Regions from separate parts of the Homo sapiens genome. Here region 2 is linked to region 1. The links are contacts of gene promoters, found by promoter capture Hi-C in human tissues and cell types (Jung and others, 2019). All regions are on one chromosome and are shown on one strand. Each heading gives the region's core, a stretch centred on a gene start or on the middle of the fragment in contact. The rest is flanking DNA. Distances are from core to core; before and after follow the strand shown. Region 1 holds the start of VASN (vasorin). Region 2 holds the start of SEC14L5 (SEC14 like lipid binding 5).

What was found. Contacts are between HindIII fragments. The study calls those that stand out against the background at their distance.
Region 2: the fragment with the promoter of SEC14L5 here is called in contact with the fragment with the promoter of VASN in region 1 in 1 of the 25 tissues and cell types used here (spleen).

What each region holds. Positions count from the first base shown.
Region 1 is chr16:4,370,384-4,374,163 of GRCh38, forward strand. It overlaps VASN (vasorin), which reads left to right and starts at 1,465. Exons shown (of 2, transcript NM_138440.3): 1 at 1,465-1,610. The region is part of intron 9 of CORO7-PAM16 (CORO7-PAM16 readthrough); the gene reads right to left. All of the region lies in intron 9 of CORO7 (coronin 7), which reads right to left. RefSeq lists an enhancer at 847-1,672. The HindIII fragment of the contact is 27,496 bases long and covers 1-2,083 here.
Region 2 is chr16:4,956,710-4,960,219 of GRCh38, forward strand. It overlaps SEC14L5 (SEC14 like lipid binding 5), which reads left to right and starts at 1,621. Exons shown (of 16, transcript NM_014692.2): 1 at 1,621-1,736; 2 at 2,564-2,677. The coding sequence starts at 2,615. RefSeq lists silencers at 1,506-1,715, 1,514-1,809 and an enhancer at 1,613-2,148. The HindIII fragment of the contact is 18,853 bases long and covers 1-3,510 here.

The DNA.
Region 1 (3,780 bases), core at 215-2,714:
GAGCAACCGCCACTCAGCCCCAGCTGAGAGTTCCTGTTCAATGCAAGCTGGGAAGCCCCATTTTAATATGAAACCACCTGATTTTTCAATGTTAGCAGTGCCTTCAAAGTTGTAAAAACTCCCATAAAGCCTGCACTAAATGCACCCAAAGGCCAGCCCCAACCCAGGAACAGAGGTCCGCAAGCCATGCCCTAATCCATGTAGACCGAGAAACGTATGGGTTGTGGAGCCCTGCCAGCCCTGGAAAGGGGCCCTGTGGGGAGAGGGCCCTGTGGACGGGAGGTCCAGAAGGTGACTGTCCCAGCCAGGCCCTGCTTAGCCCTTGACGGCTAGACACAGAGGCCATCCTGCCTTCTGGAGATAACTGAGTCCTCCAGAGACTAGGAAACCCTCCAGCTGGTGTGGCCCAGCCTCCCAGGGATAAGCCTTCAGGCCCCCCAAAGACTAGAGCTAGCCCAGCCAAGGGCCTTGGCTACAGGCCGGGCTGGAGGGGGTGTGGGTGTCCCAAGGCTCTCCGGAAGTCAGGAGCTGAGCTGGGCCCCCAAAGGCTCTGAGGCATGACTGACCACAAACGCGGAGGGGGAGGAGGGCAGAGTGTTTTCCTGGAATCCTCCAAGGCAGGGGATTTTTCTGGACTAGTCCGGCCCCTGGCACCCGCCCCTCCTGCCCAATCAAGGGCCACTGTCAACTGCAGCCCAGGCCCCACCCACCGACGGTGACCACCCCTATGCCTCCACAGCTCAGGCTTGAAGCTGCCAGTAACTGTGGGGCCGTGGGCAGACCACCACTGCCCTCCCTGACACAGCCCCTTCATCTCATAATATGGTGGGGAAGAGAGTCCAGGGCTGCTCACAACTCTTAAGGCTGTCGTGGCTAAGAGGACCCTGAGCTCAGATTTGGCATTGGAGTTTATACTTAGGAGGCTCTTGAAAGGGCTTTGTGTGGGCTGCCAGGAGTTTTTTGAAATTGGGATTAGCTACCAACAATAACACATTGAGAGATTTCACCTAAAAATCTGGATTTCCAGTTTCTCTTCAAAAATCCAAAGCTCTAGCTGGCCCGGGCTGGTCATGAGGACTCAGCCCTTACCAGCCCCACTCCCGCCATCCTGCCTCTCCAGGGCCGCAGAGGCCCTGGGGTGGACTTCTGGCATTTGTCACCTGCCTGGTGCCTCATAGGCATCTGGGCTGTGACGCTTAGGATTCCTAAATAGTCTCTCGCTTTTTACACAAAAAGCAGAAACCTGCCCAGTGTCATCCGGCAAACCCACGACGGGCAAGGTCTCCCCGCGCAGGTCAGGTGGCCGCAGGGTGAGGGCCAGGGCAACCCGGCCCACGAGCCCCTCGGTGGGGAAGGGGCGTGTCTCCACGCGGCTCCGCCCCGGCCAATGGGGAGAGGCCCCGCCCCTGCCGCGGCGGGCCCGCCCCCCGGGACTCTTAAGGCGCGACCTGCCTCCAGCGAGCCGACTCCGGAGCCCGAGCCCGGGGCGGGTGGACGCGGACTCGAACGCAGTTGCTTCGGGACCCAGGACCCCCTCGGGCCCGACCCGCCAGGAAAGACTGAGGCCGCGGCCTGCCCCGCCCGGCTCCCTGCGCCGCCGCCGCCTCCCGGTGAGTTTCTGTGGGGCTGGGGGGCTGCGGGCGGGGAAGGGGGCGCCACGGCCAGGCTGTGCACACGCGCGGGGACCGCCGCCGCGCGCACACACGCACTCTCGGGCGGGACCGCGGCCCCAGCCCCACACGGTCACCTGGGCCGCCCGGCGGGCAGGCCCTGTACGCTCCCTCCCCCGCCGTCCTGGGGCGCCGACAGCCCCGCGGCCGGCCAGGGTGCGCGCCTGAGTGTGCGGTGAGCCCGCGAGGCTGCAAGCAGACAAAATAAACACCCCGTCCCATGCTTCCTCCTCCCACGGCTGGGCCTCCGGCATGACCAGTTTTATGAATCAAACCCCTTTGAGGGGGATAGCCAAGCCACAGGCTTGGGTCACTTTTCCCTCCTGGGGTCCGGCAGTAGGTGCTGCTGTGCAGAAGGGCTGCCCGGGGTCCTCTGGACCCTTGTCACTCAAAGCACAGCTGGGGGCTACAGATATGCAGCCCTAGGGAGGGGCGGGGAGTGGCTGGTGGGCGTCCGATGCCCATCCCTCCAGGTGGGGGATGGACCTGTACTGGCCAGGGCCCTTAGAGCTTCGGGTATCAGGCAGGGTGCCGGGTCTCTGCCTCTGCCAGGGAAGGGGCTTTGCTTGGGCTGCAAACCCAGTGGCCTGGAGCCAGCCTAGTCCTTTGTGTCCCTGGGCTGGCAGTGCTGGGGCCTGAGGACTGCTGAGGTCCCCTGTGGTCACTGGCAGGCCAGCCGATTGGTGCCAACCATTCTGCCTCTCCCCCATTCGTTAACGATTGCCACACCAGGGTCACTGACCGCCTCCCCTGCTGTGGCCCAGGGGTGGAGTGTGCAGGGTGGAAGGAAGAGGTCCTGGGGGTCTAGGTGTCCCCATGCCTGCCTTTTGCACCAAGGACAGGTGAGGCTCTGGAGAGAGGCAGCGGGACCTAGAGCCCCCTTCCCCAGGCTGAGAGCCTCCAGGGCTGGGGATTGGATAAAATCTCCAAGGTCCCTTCACACTAGACTGTACTTTGGGTGTTGAGGGCATAGAGGGGTGGCCGGGCTGGGACCTTCCAAGCAGGGTCCATTAGGGCCAGTCCAGGGGGCAGCAAAGTCCAGGATGGGCCCAGCTATTGACAAAAACCCAACAGAGCTGGGGCAGGCGGGTGGGGGATGGGGAGCAGTCCCCTGAGTTTACTCTCTTCTCCCAGGGGAGTTGGCCTGGAGCTTCTGTAAACAGAGTGTCAGAGGCAGGAAGAGGCTCTGGTGATGAGCAGCCCAGCTGGATCCCCTCCAGACCATTATCTAGCCTCCCCTGGGCCTGGGGAGGGAGGATGCGCACACACATGCCAGCCTGGGGGCCGGGCACTGCCTGTCCCCACCCCGCCCCTGTCTCCTGCACGTTGGAACAGCTGTCCTGCTACCTGTGGGTCCGGAGGGTCAGATGGGGATGGGGCTGGGGGCTGGGGTCCCAGGGCATTTGTCCAGATGGCACCTCTCTCTCCATATTCTGGGAATGGGAGAATGGGATTCAGCATAAGGAGCCTCTCAGACACTGCCCAGACCTGTGCTTACCCGAGGAAGGCCCCTCTGGCACGCAGCCCAGGGGCCAGGGAGATGGCAAGGGAGATGCCCCGGGCAGGAGATGGGTCCGCGGCTCCTAGCTCCCATTACTGTCACCCCCACTGACAGCCCCGGGGGAGCTGGGACAAGTCCCAAGTACAGAAAATTAAGTCCTTGCCTGGGCTTATAAGTGGGTCCCAACACAACACTGGGCAGCCTCTGGGAACAAGAAAGCAGGGCCCTGCTGAGCCCAGGAGGGAGCTCCCACCTCAGCAGGCCAGACAGCCAGTCCTGCCAGTGAGCAGAGGTGTGTAGAGGGGAGGCTGCCCACAGGGATGGCTATCCCTGACCACTGGCCAGCCCTGAGCTCATGGGAGGGCAGCAAGGCCACCTAACTCTGTTAGTGACCTCTCCTGGACCCCCCATCAGCTGCCCTTAGAGTCCCCTCCCTGGGCTGGGGAGCCCAAGGCTCTGTGCTGCCAAGAAAACCAGCTCCCCTCACTGCTGTGGAATTTGCGTGAGTTCTTGGAGAAGGGGGAGGGTGCACGTGTGTGTGTGTGTGTGTGTCTGCAGGAGCACTGCCCAGTGGGCGTGTGTCTGGCGTGGGCGTGTCTGTGTGCGCGT
Region 2 (3,510 bases), core at 371-2,870, 590 kb after region 1:
AGTAGGTGCTCAGTAAATGTTGAATGAGTGAATACATGGATGACAGCACTGTCCAGAGCCAATTTCTTGGGTCTTGTAGGCTAAACAGATGAGGAGTGGCAAGGCAGGACTTCTGGGAGCAAGGTTGGTCCCCTGGGAGTCCTGGGAGGGCTGAAAGGGGTTAAGTGTGAGTTAAAATGAGAGTGATGGACAAATGTCACTCTCCCAAGGGAGGCCCCCTTACTCCCTGTTTTATTTATTTATTTACTTATTTATTTTGAGACCGAGTCTTGCTTTGTTGCCCAGGCTGGAGTGCAGTGGCCAGGTAACAGCTCACTGCAGCTTTGAACTTCTGGGCTCAAGGGATCCTCCTGCCTCAGCCTCTTGAGTAGCTGGGACCACAGGCACGTGCCAACACGCCTGGCTAATTTTTTTTTTTTTTTTTTGCGACGGAGCTTTGTTCTTCTTGCCCAGGCTGGAGTGCAGTGGCGCAGTCTCGGCTCACTGCAACCTCCGCCTCCTTGATTCAAGCGATTCTCCTGCCTCAGCCTCCCGAGTAGCTGAGATTACAGGTATACGCCACCATGCCCGGCTAATTTTGTATTTTAGTAGAGACGGGGTTTCCTCATATTGGCCATGCTGTTCTCGAACTCCTGACCTCAGCTGATCTGCCTGCCTTGGCCTCTCAGTGTGCTGGGATTACAGGCGTGAGCCACCGCGCCCTGCCTAAACTAAAAAAAAATTTTTTTGTAGAGATAGGTTCTTGCTATGTTACCCAGGGTGGTCTCCAACTCCTGGGTTCAAGCGGTCCTCCCGCTTCCGCCTCCTAAAGTGTTTGGATTACAGGCGTGAGACATGGCGCCCGGCCTCTTACCTGTTTTAAATTGTCCTTTCTCTCCGCTGGCTCCTTGAGCCCCTTTCCTGCTTATTTTTCTCTCGTTAGAGTTTTTCACTACCTCACACATCATATATTTGCCTTATTTATTGAGTGTCTGTCTCCCCACCGTAGTATAAACTCCACGAGGGCAGGGATTCGTGCGTGTGGCTCACCGGCGGCTCTCCAGCGCCTGGACAGGGCTGACCCCCAGCAGGCGCTCTGTGAAGGTGTGCAGAGTGGGCGAAGGTGCATGCGCGGGCCGTGGGGCGGGGACAGGTGGAGGAGCCAGTCAGACCCAAGTGCAGCGGGACGAGGGCGAGGTTAATCTGAGCAAGAAAAGCGTAAATTCTGCTTATCTACAAATGTAAACAGTACTGTCGGCCAGACGCAGGGTCCGGGGCGGGTCGGCCCGGACTCAGGGTCTGCTTGGAGGCAGAGCTAGATTAGGGCGGGGTCGTCCTGTGGCCTACCATTCCCCGAGGCTGAGGGCCTTGGAGGGCGGGGCCAGTGAAGGGGGAGGGGACTTCCTGAGGTGTGACCAATCTAGAGAAAGGACTGGGCTGAGGGCGTGGTCAAACAAGCGACATCTAAAAATAAGGGGCGGGGCTAGAACCAGGGGGAGTTCGCCTGGGGCGGGGCCAGAGTGGGGCGGGACCAGTTAGGGGGCAGGGCCAACCTGGGCGGGGCCATGGCCGGGGACGTGGGCGGGACCAGGTCAGGGGCGGGGCCAGGCCAGGATCTCCGCTGTCCCGGGTCCTGGAGCTCTCTCGGCCCGGCAGGTTTCGCTCCCGCCCCTCCGGCCTTCCACAGCTGTCCTGGCCGCAGGGTGTTCAAGGCGGGACACACCAGGCTAGAGATCCGCGATCGGGCCCCGCCTCAGGTACTGCGCTCCAGGCCAGGCGGGCGCGGGTAAGCGCTCAGCTCCCGAGCCAGGCGGGCTTCCAGGGCACTTCCCCTAGGCTGCATTCCCAAAGGCTCCCGAGGGCGAGGGTGAGCAAAGCTGCGGGGACCTGTGTGTGCATGCGTGTGCGATTGCCTCTACGTGTGTGTACGTGTGTGTGCATGTGCGCACGGGTGTGTGTGCGTGTGTGCACGTCTGTGCACACCAGGGGAATTGCGTGCGTGGAGCTGGGCAGGTGCGTGTTTCAGGGTGTGTGTGCAAAGTTGGAGGCGTGTGCAAAAGCAGTCCCGTGTGGGAGGGAAACCTGCGTGTGTACATGTGTGTGATAGAGACAGTGCCTGTGAAATGTGGTGAAGGCTGTGTGTGTATGTCAGGGTGTCTGGGAGGAAAATGGGAGGGCAGGTGCAAGGAGACTCGGGGGTGGGCTGTAGGCCAGCAAGTCTGTGGCAAGCTGCGGGGTGCATGCGTGAATAGAACCGTGGGAGTGTAAGAATTGCAAATGTGTGTGTGTCTGTGTGGGTGGCCGTAAGGCTTCTGGGGGCCCTCAGTGTGAAGGGGTGGGGGTAGAGGAAAGTTTGGGGGTGCTGACTGCTCTTGGAAGGCTGAGCGTGGTCTGGGGCCATGGCTAATGACAGGGAAGCTGTTGGGGCTTGGCCTGGAGTAATTTGGGGGGAATATCAGCCTTCTCAATTTGAAGGCTGGGGAGCTGTGTGGGTGGGGCCAGGGGCTGCCCCTTACACTTGGTGGGTGGTGTCCCTGCTTCCCGAGGTGGGAGCTGCAACCTCACCAGTCACTCCTCGCCCCAGGCTCTGTGCACACCCCTGCCTGGTGACCTCCATTGGTGCTCCAGCGTGAACATGGTGCAAAGATACCAGTCTCCTGTCCGAGTCTACAAGTACCCGTTTGAGCTGGTCATGGCGGTGAGTGACTCCTGATTCTTGGGCCCCCATGTGACAGTTGGAGGGGCTTGAGATCAGCTATGGCGGTAGGAAGACGGAGCTCCTTAGACTCCCAGATCAGAAGGAATTAGTGAGTTACTCAGCTGACCTGGTGGGTTTAACTTCTATCCAGTGACCTCTCTGTCCAACCATCCTATCCTCGGCCCAGTGACCAAAACACAAAGTCTTTCTTCCTTCTCCTTGTTGAAGCTGACCTGCTCCCTTACTTTAGACTCTCCTGATAGAAAACAAAGGTATCAGGGGCCAAGCCACTGCTGTCATTTCATATAATGGCATATCACAGTGATAAATGGAATGGTGGTGATAATGACAACAGCTGTTTATTGAATGTTTACAGCACTGTCTTAACAGATGATGTTTCTTCCAATTCCCGATAGCTGTTATTTTCCCATGTAACCTCCATGAAACTGAGGCTTTGACAGGTGAAGGGATGACACTAAGTTCTGTATCTACGCAGAGGTGGAGTCGGGGCTGAGATCCCCACAAAGGAGACTCTAGAACCTCACATTTGACCACAGAGCCCTCCTTCTGCTCACAGACCCCCTTCCCTCCCCTTTAAGGAAGCTGACACTGGGACGAGAGAGAGAATGAGTGGGTAGGTTTGCTTTGTGATGTACTCTGTGTTGTGCAGCAAGTCAGTTGGAGGCCTAGAATTGGCTGCCAGATCCTTGGCCCCCAGGATCACTGGTCTTTTCACCCTGGGGGCAGAAGCTGGACATAGGTGGATGTGGAATTCCTTCTTGGCTGCATCCCTCTGCCTCTGAGCACTTCACTTCCCTGCTCAGTAACATGGG